3 separate regions of the Homo sapiens genome follow, and regions 1 and 3 are each linked to region 2. The links are contacts of gene promoters, found by promoter capture Hi-C in human tissues and cell types (Jung and others, 2019). All regions are on one chromosome and are shown on one strand. The core of a region is centred on a gene start or on the middle of the fragment in contact, and the rest is flanking DNA. Distances in the headings are between cores, read along the strand shown.

Evidence for each region. The method cuts DNA at HindIII sites, captures the fragments that hold promoters and counts their contacts. A contact is called where the count stands out against the background at its distance.
Region 1: a contact is called between a fragment that was not itself captured here and the fragment with the promoter of TRIOBP in region 2, in 2 of the 25 tissues and cell types used here (aorta and dorsolateral prefrontal cortex).
Region 3: a contact is called between a fragment that was not itself captured here and the fragment with the promoter of TRIOBP in region 2, in 1 of the 25 tissues and cell types used here (spleen).

The regions. Positions count from the first base shown.
Region 1 is chr22:37,941,924-37,945,169 of GRCh38, reverse strand. MICALL1 (MICAL like 1) reads right to left here. Exons shown (of 16, transcript NM_033386.4): 16 at 2,348-3,246. It overlaps C22orf23 (chromosome 22 open reading frame 23), which reads left to right. Exons shown (of 7, transcript NM_032561.5): 5 at 1-128; 6 at 653-753; 7 at 924-2,120. The coding sequence ends at 995. Among named protein-coding and RNA genes, the nearest start is that of C22orf23, 10 kb to the left of the region's middle. The HindIII fragment of the contact is 9,418 bases long and covers 1-3,246 here.
Region 2 is chr22:37,695,378-37,698,518 of GRCh38, reverse strand. It overlaps TRIOBP (TRIO and F-actin binding protein), which reads right to left and starts at 1,471. Exons shown (of 24, transcript NM_001039141.3): 1 at 1,430-1,471; 2 at 823-931. The HindIII fragment of the contact is 29,636 bases long and covers 1-3,141 here.
Region 3 is chr22:37,857,213-37,860,766 of GRCh38, reverse strand. It overlaps EIF3L (eukaryotic translation initiation factor 3 subunit L), which reads right to left. Exons shown (of 13, transcript NM_016091.4): 5 at 2,027-2,088. Among named protein-coding and RNA genes, the nearest start is that of EIF3L, 9.6 kb to the right of the region's middle. RefSeq lists enhancers at 3,023-3,523, 3,524-3,554. The HindIII fragment of the contact is 3,267 bases long and covers 1-3,018 here.

The DNA.
Region 1 (3,246 bases), core at 490-2,989, 250 kb before region 2:
TTTGGAGAAGGAGAAACAAAGACTCCAAAATATCTTTGCCACAGGGAAGGACATGGAGGAACGGAAAAGAAAGGCCCCTCCTGCACGACAGAAGGCTCCAGCCCCTGAGCTAGACCGATTTGAAGAGCGTAAGACTCCGACGGACCAGTCATGCTGGGGGTGGGGGTAATGTGAGGAGGGGGCCCAGAATTGGATGGAGCAGTCAGGGGATCCCTGAGGGCCAAGGGCCAACAAGTGAGAAACACTATTTATTTATTTATTTATTTATTTTGAGACAGTCTTGCTCTTATTGCCCAGGCTAGAGTGCAGTGGCGTGATCTGGGCTCACTGCAGCCTCCACTTCCCAGGTTCAAGCAATCCCTCCTGCCTCAGCCACCTGAGTAGCTGGGATTACCAGCGCCCGCCACCATGCCTGGCTAATTTTTGTATTTTTAGTAGACACGGGGTTTCACCATGTTGGTCAGGCTGGTCTCGAACTCCTGACCTCGTGATCCACCTGCCTTGGCCTCCCAAAGTGCTGGGATTATAGGCGTGAGCCACCGCGCCCGGCCTAGAAACACTATTTGACAATAGAACCACTTCCTCTCCTCAAGAGAGGCAACCCGCTGCCTGCATCCCTCATGGGAACCTGACAGCCCTCTCCTCTGTCCAGTGGTGAAGGAAATCCAGGAGAGGAAAGAATTCCTGGCTGACATGGAGGCCCTGGGACAGGGCAAACAGTACCGAGGAATCATCCTTGCTGAAATCTCCCAGGTAGGAGAAACAACCAGGAAAGTGGGGAGGGGAAGGGCCCAGCGCCAAGTGCGAATGGAAATACAGGGTCTGCTGTGGCAGGGTTCAGGGGTCAGGCTCTAGCTCACTGCTGTGACAGCTCCTCAGGTTCCTAGCCCTGATACACCTGCTTTCCCTGATGCCCTTTGCAGAAACTCCGGGAAATGGAAGACATTGACCACAGAAGGAGTGAGGAACTTAGGAAGGGTCTTGCCACCACTTAATCTGTCTCCAGAGACGGGCAGGGTAGCCCAAGCTCGACCACTGGAGTCCACTCCTCTGCCAGGCAGGGCCATCCTCAGGCCAGCCCATCCTACCAGCCTTCTGCCACGTCAGGTGGTGGCATAGCACTGCCCTGCAGTACCCCAAGGCATACTCAGCAGCCTAGCCCCTGCCCCGGAATGCAGATGGAGCCTCTGAGACTCACAGCCCCGTCCGCAGAGAAGCAAAGCCCGAGCATCCCTACTAGGACATGTGTCTAAAGGTATCCACTGGGCCTGCTTCCCACCACTTCTGACCTGTGGCCTGTTCATTTAGTTTTCTGAATTCAGGAATGAATATGATTCCTTTCTTCCTGTTTTAGGATTTACTTATTTGATTTCTTACCGCCTTAGGCAAGTATTCAACCACAATGATTAACTGGCCAATAAAACATATTTAACGTGGGTCATTACAAGCACCATTTTGTTTTCAGAGGGATAAGCTTATTTGTTCAAGGCATTAGACTTTGTCAAGCCCAGATGGTTTCTAGCTACCTGTTTGCATATTTCAAGTGGCAACGGGAACCAACCTCTTGGGCACCCCATGGCTGGCTGCTGTGGCGGGTGCTGAATTCCACTCTGTTAATGATCTCAATAAACCTCTGCAACGGTTCATTATCCCTCTGTGAAAACTAAGTCTCAACAAGATACCACAACCAAGGGCATTTACCTGGCAAGCAGTGCATTCAGGATTAAAAGTTGGCTTTAGCTTTATGTCTTTCCACTATACCCATGGCCACAGAAAGAAACATGAAAAGGTGGGAGCGACCTAGAGCCCTGGCCTGGGAGTTCCAATCCCTGCATGTGCCGCGTGACCTTTCTTGGGCAAAACCCACCAGCTCCGTGCTTGTGCATCTGCGAGGCCCTGCTGGGAAGGAGTCACCTGACACCTTGTCCTGTACACAGCACATCTGTCCCCCTCCCCTCTGGCTCCTGACACCCACGATCCCTGCCTTCTCCGGTATTCTGTCATTTGCTTGTCCCACTAAATCACCAAAATATTTTGGAAATATCAACCTTGTCTCGGGCACCTGGAGGGAGTCCCATAATCCCATCAGGTCACATGACCCAAGTTTCGGTTTGCAGAATAAAACGGCCCTGTAAATGGTGAGGCCCCAATCAAGGGCCGGCTCAGGGACATCCCATGGAAAGCCTCTGTGTCCACACACCCTCAAGAACCTGAGGGCAGAGGGTGCAATCTAATGGGAACAGTTGTCCTCGACCTCGAAGGCCCCATCATGTGGTCAGGAGGCAGCAAACCAGAGAACCCCCCAGGACAAATCCAGTCCACCCTGGACACACAGTATCAGCCAACCCTTGATTGAAATTCAGGCTAGTGGCCGGGCGTGGTGGCTCACGCCTGTAATCCCAGCACTTTGGGAGGCCAAGGTGGGTGGATCACAAGGTCAGGAGATCGAGACCATCCTGGTTAACACGGTGAAACCCCGTCTCTACTAAAAATACAAAAAATTAGCCAGGCGTCGTAGCATGCGCCTGTAGTCCCAGCTGCTCAGGAGGCCGAGGCAGGAGGATGGCGTGAACCCAGGAGGCGGAGCTTGCAGTGAGCTGAGATCGCGCCACTGCACTCCAGCCTGGGCGACAGAGCGAGACTCTGTCTCAAAAAAAAAAAAAAAAAATTCAGGCTAGCTTTCAGCATTTACAAATTACACACACATAAAATCTGGATTTCTAGCTTCTTATGACAAAGGATCTGGCAACACCGGGCCCACATTCAGCCCCACAGGCCACAGGTGACTTGACTTGCCTCCAGTTCACCCCTGCCCCTGCCAGCTTTGTCTCCTGACACCGAAACAGCCCGTCAGAGCTGTCACTCGGGTTCATGCGTGTTACCTGTCTGGCCCTGGAAAGGCCCTGGAGTTGGTGGCGCCAGCTCCAGGTCAACAGGCATGTTTAGAAGGAGCCTGCCAGGGGCTGCATGGCCGAGGAGCCACCTCTCCCTGCAGAGGAAAGGGATCCTGCCCAGTGGCAGGCGGTGAGGGCAGAGATCCCTCTTGGAGGATGGCCCCAACATGGCCTCTGGGCGACCAGAGATGTTCAGCCACCAGGTGTGGCAGAGGCAGGTGGGAAGGCAAACAAGGCTGCCGCTGTGGCCCGAGGCTGCAGGGCACTGGCAGTTGAGGTTGTCTGTTTATTGGTGAGGAAACTCCTCGAGAGTTAATACAGTGTAATCTTTTCCCAGAGGTGTGTAGAGGGA
Region 2 (3,141 bases), core at 222-2,721:
TAGCTGGGCGTGGTGCGCATGCCTGTAATCCCAGCTACTCAAGAGGCTGGGGCAAGAGAATTGCTTGAACCCAGGAGGTGGAGGTTGCAGTGGAGCTAAGATCGCCCCGCTGCACTCCAGCCTGGGCAACAGTGTGTCTCAAAAAAAAAAAAAAAAAAAAAAAAGGCTCTTGCAGTGTTACCCAGGCTGGTTTTGAACTCCTGAACTCCTGACCTCAAGTAATCCTCCTCCTTCCCTCAAAGTGCTGGGATTACAGGTGTGAAGCATCATACCCTTCTGAAACCCTGGTGTCTTTCTTTCTTTTTTTTTTTTTTTTTTTGAGACAGAATCTCGGTCTATCACCCAGGCTGGAGTGCAGTGGCGCGATCTCGGCTCACTGCAACCTCTGCCTCCCGGATTCAAGCAATTCTCCTGCCGCAGCCTCCCAAATAGCTGGGATTACAGGCATGTGCCACCATGCCCGGATAATTTTTTTGTATTTTTGGTAGAGACGAGGTTTCACCATATGGGCCAGGCTGGTCTCGAACTCCTGACCTTGTGATCCACCCACCTCGACCTCCCAAAGTGCTGGGATTACAGGCTTGAGCCACCGCGCCCGGCCGCCCTGGTATCTTACTTGTGCAAGGGTTCTCCTTTCTGGGTGCCCCTAAGGCCACCAACATCCATGCCCTGGAGTGGAGCTGGGTCAGGAGAATCACTTAAAGATGGCCTCCCCACTCACACAGAGCCCCAGGGGGAGGGTGGGGGGTGGGAGGAACCCAACATCCCAAAACACCTGCAGCTTTTGGTGCCCCCAGGTCACCTGCCCACATCCATCCTCACCTGCTGTGTTCCAGGGGATCAGGCTTTTGTGGCCAATCTTGGTGGAGAGCTGAGGAATTTCACCTCCTCCCCTGGGACAGCCAGGGCCAAGGCTCCTCCATCATCAGACCTGGAGAAGGGAATGCGGTGGGGGCGACAGCAAGGCACGGTGGGGAGAGGGCTACCCACTGGTCCTTCCGTGGCCCCAGGGTCTCTGATCCTCCCCGGGCGGTCGTCCTCCCGACTCCTGGTGGTGGAAGAGGGGCGCATCGGCCCCGCCCGTCCTGGGCGTTTCTCTCCTGGTCTGGCCACATAAAGGAGCGTCGCCTAGCAGGAGAACGCCGCTCATTTTCCTGGGGGTGGGTAGGGGGCTCTACTCCACGTGCCCCTCGCTGCTCCCGTTTCCTCCCCTACCCACAACCAATAGGCAGAATCCTTCTCTAAAATGCACTTGAGATGTGGATATAATAATCAAAACCTTAAGCAGCTACACATGCCCCACCCAGAGAATGGACCCGGGACCCTCTCCATCCAGGCATTCAGCCAGTTCCTCCCCGGATCCCTCGACCCCTACCCCTCCTGTAGGCCTCCCCCTACCAGCTCCTCTTTTCTGAGGCCCAGTGCTAACCTTGGCTGGGTTTCCACGCACAGGGGCTGCCGGGGTGGGAGTGCCAGGGTCATGGCCTCTTTATTTTAACAATGAATCAGAGCGATGCTCGGGAGGTGGAAGGCCACGCCCCTGCCACGCTCGCATAGGCTCTCTCTGGGTGCCTCATTTACATGAAGACTGTGGGACTCTGTGGGACTGGACAAACCAGAACAAGGGGCGGGGCGGAGGCAGGCGGGGCGCAGATACCTCTGAGAGCGGGACTCACTGCACGTTTAGCCTGGGCCGCCTGCAGCCCTTGCCCGCTGGGGGTCCCCAGGGAGCCCTGGAGAGGGCTGGCACTGGCGGATCTGGCTCCTTCTGACCTCTTTCCCGTTGGTTCATTCTGCCGACAGTCCGCTGGGCTGGCTTTAGCACAGACCTTGGACTAGAGTCTTAACCTCTCTGTCATGACAGTTTTCTTACCGAGGAGGCGGAGGTTGCAGTGAGCTGAGATAGCGCCATTGCACTCCAGCCTGGGCGACAGAGCAAAACTCTTGTATAAAAAAGAAAAAAAAAATAGCCTGGCGTGGTGGTGTGCGCCTGTAGTCTCAGCTACTCAGAAGGCTGAGGCAGGAGCATCGCTTGAACCCGGGAGGCGGAGGTTGCAGTGAGCCGAAATCACACCACTGCACTCCAGCCTGGGCAACAGAGTGAGACTCCGCCTTAAAAAAAAAAAAAAAAAAAAAAAAAAAAACTTGTTTCCCATCTTTTTTCCTTTTGGTTGATATTTGCCAATTGTGGCGACTGGGATGGGAGGAGGAGGGCGAAATTCACTGGACAGGGAGGAAGGTTGCAGCAGGAGTCCAGGAGAGATGGGTGCAGTGATGAGACAGGGAAGGTAAACTAGATTCAGACACTTGTAGGCAGGTGAGCTTGGCACTAGGGTCACAGAAATCTTAGATTATTTTGAGAGTTGTTGGGGATCACCTGGGGGTTGGATTCAGACAGGATTGGCTGAGAACCTACATTGACACAAGCTTGTGCCCAGAGCAGAAACAGAAATGACTAAGATACAATTTCTCACTCAGAAAGCTCTGGTCTGGTTCGAGGGACAAACCAGGATTCACTGTGTTCAGTGTTTAAAAGAAGGAAACACCTACTATCATGGGAGGTCAGGTGGAGAAAGGAGGAAGGCAGAGAAGGCTTCTCCTTGGAGGTGGCTCAAAGGTGAGGAGATCGAGAAAGGCTGAGAACAGCCTGCAAACCTCTGAAGGTGGCTGGGGGAGGCCAATGCTAGCTCAGAACAAGGCGGGCATTTCTAGCAGTCCTCACAAGGGAGCAGGCAGTGAGCTCTCCAAGCTCAGGAGGAACTGAAGCCCCTCACCAGAGCCACCTGCAAGCCAAAGGAAGGTCAATGGCTCAAACCTGGGGGCGTCAAGGTCGTCAGCACCACTGGGACCTTGGAAAGGATGGACGCTGAGGCTTATATGACCCCAGAACACCTGCCCCCACAGTTCCTCACCTCACCCCCCTGGGGAGAGCTCAGGCCACCCCAAAACAGATCGTACCAAAAGAAGTTTTATTTTAATGGGCTGAGCCCAGCCTCAGGTAACTATGGCCACAGCTCATCATGTACTAGCACAGGGCCTGACCTTGGTGTGAAAACCGAGGATGGATAAATGTCTGCTGTGACTTTAGCTCCACACAGATGGATCCCCTCATGACAGCCCTTTATATATTTGGCTTCTGTG
Region 3 (3,554 bases), core at 136-2,635, 160 kb before region 2:
TCCTGCAGTAATTCAGGGAAGAGATGATAATGACTTCAACTAGGTGAGCAGCAGTGTGGCAGTGAAAAGTGGCTGATTCAAGAAGTATGCTGAAGGCCAGGCACAGTGGCTCACGCCTGTAATCTTAGCACTTTGGGAAGCCGAGGCGGGCGGATTACCTGAGGTCAGGAGTTCGAGACCAGCCTGGGCAACATAGCGAAACCCTGTCTCTACTAAAAATACAAAAATTAGCCAGGCGTGGTGGTGCATGCCTGTAATCCCAGCTACTCAGGAGGCTGAGGAAGGAGAATCGTTTGAGCCTGGAGAATTGCTTGAGCCCAGGAGACAGAGGTTGGAGTGAGCCGAGACGGCGCCACTGCATTCCAGCCTGGATGACAGAGCGAGACTCCGTCTCAAAAACAAAACAAAATAAAACAAAACAACAAAAAGAAGTATGTTGAAGACAGAGCTTAACAGGATTTGCTGGATATCATGTCAGAGAAAAGTCAAGAATAATGCCAAGGCTTTTAGTCCAATTAACTTGGTAATAAACGGTAGCATTTATTGAGATGATTACCATGAGAAAAACTAGTTTAGAGGGAAAATAAGAATTCAGTTTTAGATGTGTTAAGCTTCAGATGACTCAGACAGCCAAGTGCAGATGCTGACAGCTGAATATACAAGTCTGGACTTCAGTGGGGCAACTGAGGCTAAAGATAGAGATTAAGTCATTGGTGTATATAAATAATACAGATGGCATTTTTCTTTTCTTTTTGAGACAAGAGTCTCACTCTGTCACCCAGGCTGGAGTGCAGTGGTACGATCTCGGCTCACTGCAACCTCCGCTTCCCGGGTTCAAGCGATTCTCCTGCCTCAGCCTTCCAAGTAGCTGGGATTACAGGCACCCGCCACCACGCCCAGCTTATTTTTGTAGTTTCATATTTTTAATAGAGACGAGGTTTCTCCATGTTGGCCAGGCTGGTCTCAAATTCCTGACCTCAGGTGACCTGCCCTTAGCCTCCCAAAGTGCTGGGATTATAGGCGTGAGCCACCGCGCCCAGCCTTAAATAGTACAGATGGCATTTTAAGAAACTTTAGGCACTCTAGGCCGGGCGTGGTGGCTCACGCCTGTCATCCCAGCACTTTGGGAGGCCAAGGCGGGCGGAACACGAGGTCAGGAGATGGAGACCATCCTGGCTAACACAGTGAAACCCCGTCTCTACTAAAAATACAAAAAAATTAGCCAGGTGTGGTGGCAGGCACCTGCAATCCCAGCTACTCAGGAGGCTGAGGCAGGAGAATGGCGTGAACCTGGGAGGTGGAGCCTGCAGTGAGCTGAGATCGCGCCACTGTACTCCAGCCTGGGCGACAGAGCGAGACTCACTCTCTCTCAAAAAAAAAAAAAAAAAAAAAGAAACTTCACGTACTCTATAATTTAGAAGTCGGGAAGAACAGAATCTAGCAAGTGCTCAAAGTTGGGATAATGTGTAGAATACTGGTGTTATAACAAGCTGGTCTAGATTCAAGGAGTTTTGTCACTTACTAGCTGGATAAATTTGAGAAAAGGTAACCTCTTGGCACCTCGGGTACCAACTTTGCACGATTGATAGTAGAATTAGATATGTGAAGATGTGTGCTAAGTGCCTAGCATTGTGCTTGGCATACAGTGACAGTGTTATGTACATCTCAGAGAAACAGAGGCTCAATGCTCTGAAGGGAAAAAGAACCCCAAGCAGAAGCAGCAGCAGGTACCTGGAAATATCCTATGAGGCTGGCAGCCTATAACCAGTGCATGGGTGATTGCCCAGTCCAGGAGAATTGTGGGGACAGAGAAATTTAAAAGAATGCATAGGTTATATAGCGTTAGTGTGTCTGAACAGCTTTCTGGGTTAAACTGTTCCTTCCACCGCTTCTTAAAACTCAAAAACATGCCAATCATGCCCAGACACTGAACCAATATAAACAAATGACTGTGTTCTAGGGACAAAAACAGCACAGAGTTAAAAAAACAAAAACAAAAAAAAAACTGCGACACTTAAATACTTACACTGACTTTGGCATATATGTGCCTGTAGTATAATTCTTTGTATAAAATCAGGAAGACAGCATCTGAAAGAGATGGCAGAAGGGTGCTTCACTAACCATAAAACTGGGGTATCCTGGCAGCTTTAGCTCTTTGGTGGGGAGGAATAAAGGTAATTCTGAAGACTAAACAACATCTAAATTGCTATGCATATGCCCCAAGAATACATGCAATGAGAAAATCCACTTCTCATTTGACTCCATCAACCTCAATCTCTGTCGATGAGATTAAGATCTCATTCAGATCTATTTCCTTTCACCATTTAGAGACTTCTGCCATCCAAGTGCATAAAAAAACCAGCACACAAGAGTAATTAGACAAGCGTGGTGGTGCGCACCCATGGTCCCAGCTACTCGGCAGGCTAAGGTGGGAGGATCGCTTGAGCCCAGCAGGCACAGGTTGCAGTCAGCCATTATCACACTACACTCCAGCATGGGCAACACAGTGAGACCCCCATGTCAAAAAAAAAAAAAAAAAAAAAAAAAGGAAGAAAGAAAATATTAATTTCAGAATGTTGTTTGTTTGTTTGAAGACAGGGTCTCGCTCTGTTGCCAAGGTTGGAGTGCAGTGATATGATCATGGCTCACTGCAGCCTCGACTTCCAGGGCTCAAGTGATCCTTCCACCTCAGCCTCCCGAGTAGGTGGGACTACAGGCATGTGCCACCATGCCTGGATAATTTTTTTAAAAAATTTTTTGTAGAGAAGGGGGTCTCCCTATGTTGCTCAGGCTAGTCTAAATCTCCCAGCCTCAAGAAATCCTCCCACCTCAGCTTCCCAAAGTACCAGAATTACAGCCGTGAGCTACGACACCCAGCCACAGAATGAGTTTTGAACTCATTCTGTGTTTAGTCAATTGAGAGTAAATGTTCAGGCCAGGTGCAGTGGCTCATGCCTGTAATCCCAGCACTTTGGGAGGCTGAGGCGGGTGGATCATTTGAGGTCAGGAGTTCAAAATCAGCCTGGCCAAGATGGTGAAACACCATCTCTACTAAAAATACAAAAAATCCGCCAGGTGCCTGTAATCCCAGCTACTCGGGAGGCTGAGGCAGGAGAATTGCTTGAGCCCAGGAGGCAGAGGTTGCAGCGAGCAGAGATCGCGCCACTGCACTCCAGCCTGGGCAAGACAGCAAGACTCCGTGACTCCATCTTAGGGGGAAAAAAAAAAGGAGTTAAGTGTTCAAAAAAACGTTAGCTATAACAAAACAAATGAGAGACTTGTACACTGAAAACACAAAACACTGGTGAACGCAACCAAAGACCTAAATAAATCAAAGACATCCCATGTCCATAGATTGGAGGACTTAATATTGGTTTTTTTTTTTTTTTTTTTTTTTGGGACGCAGTCTTGCTCTGTCGCCCAGGCTGGAGTCCAGTGGCGCAATCTCAGCTCACTGCAAGTTCTGCCTCCCGGGTTCACGCCATTCTCCTGTCTCAGCCTCCCGAGTAGCTGGGACTACAGGTGCCCGCCACCATGCCGGCCTGCCCAGATAA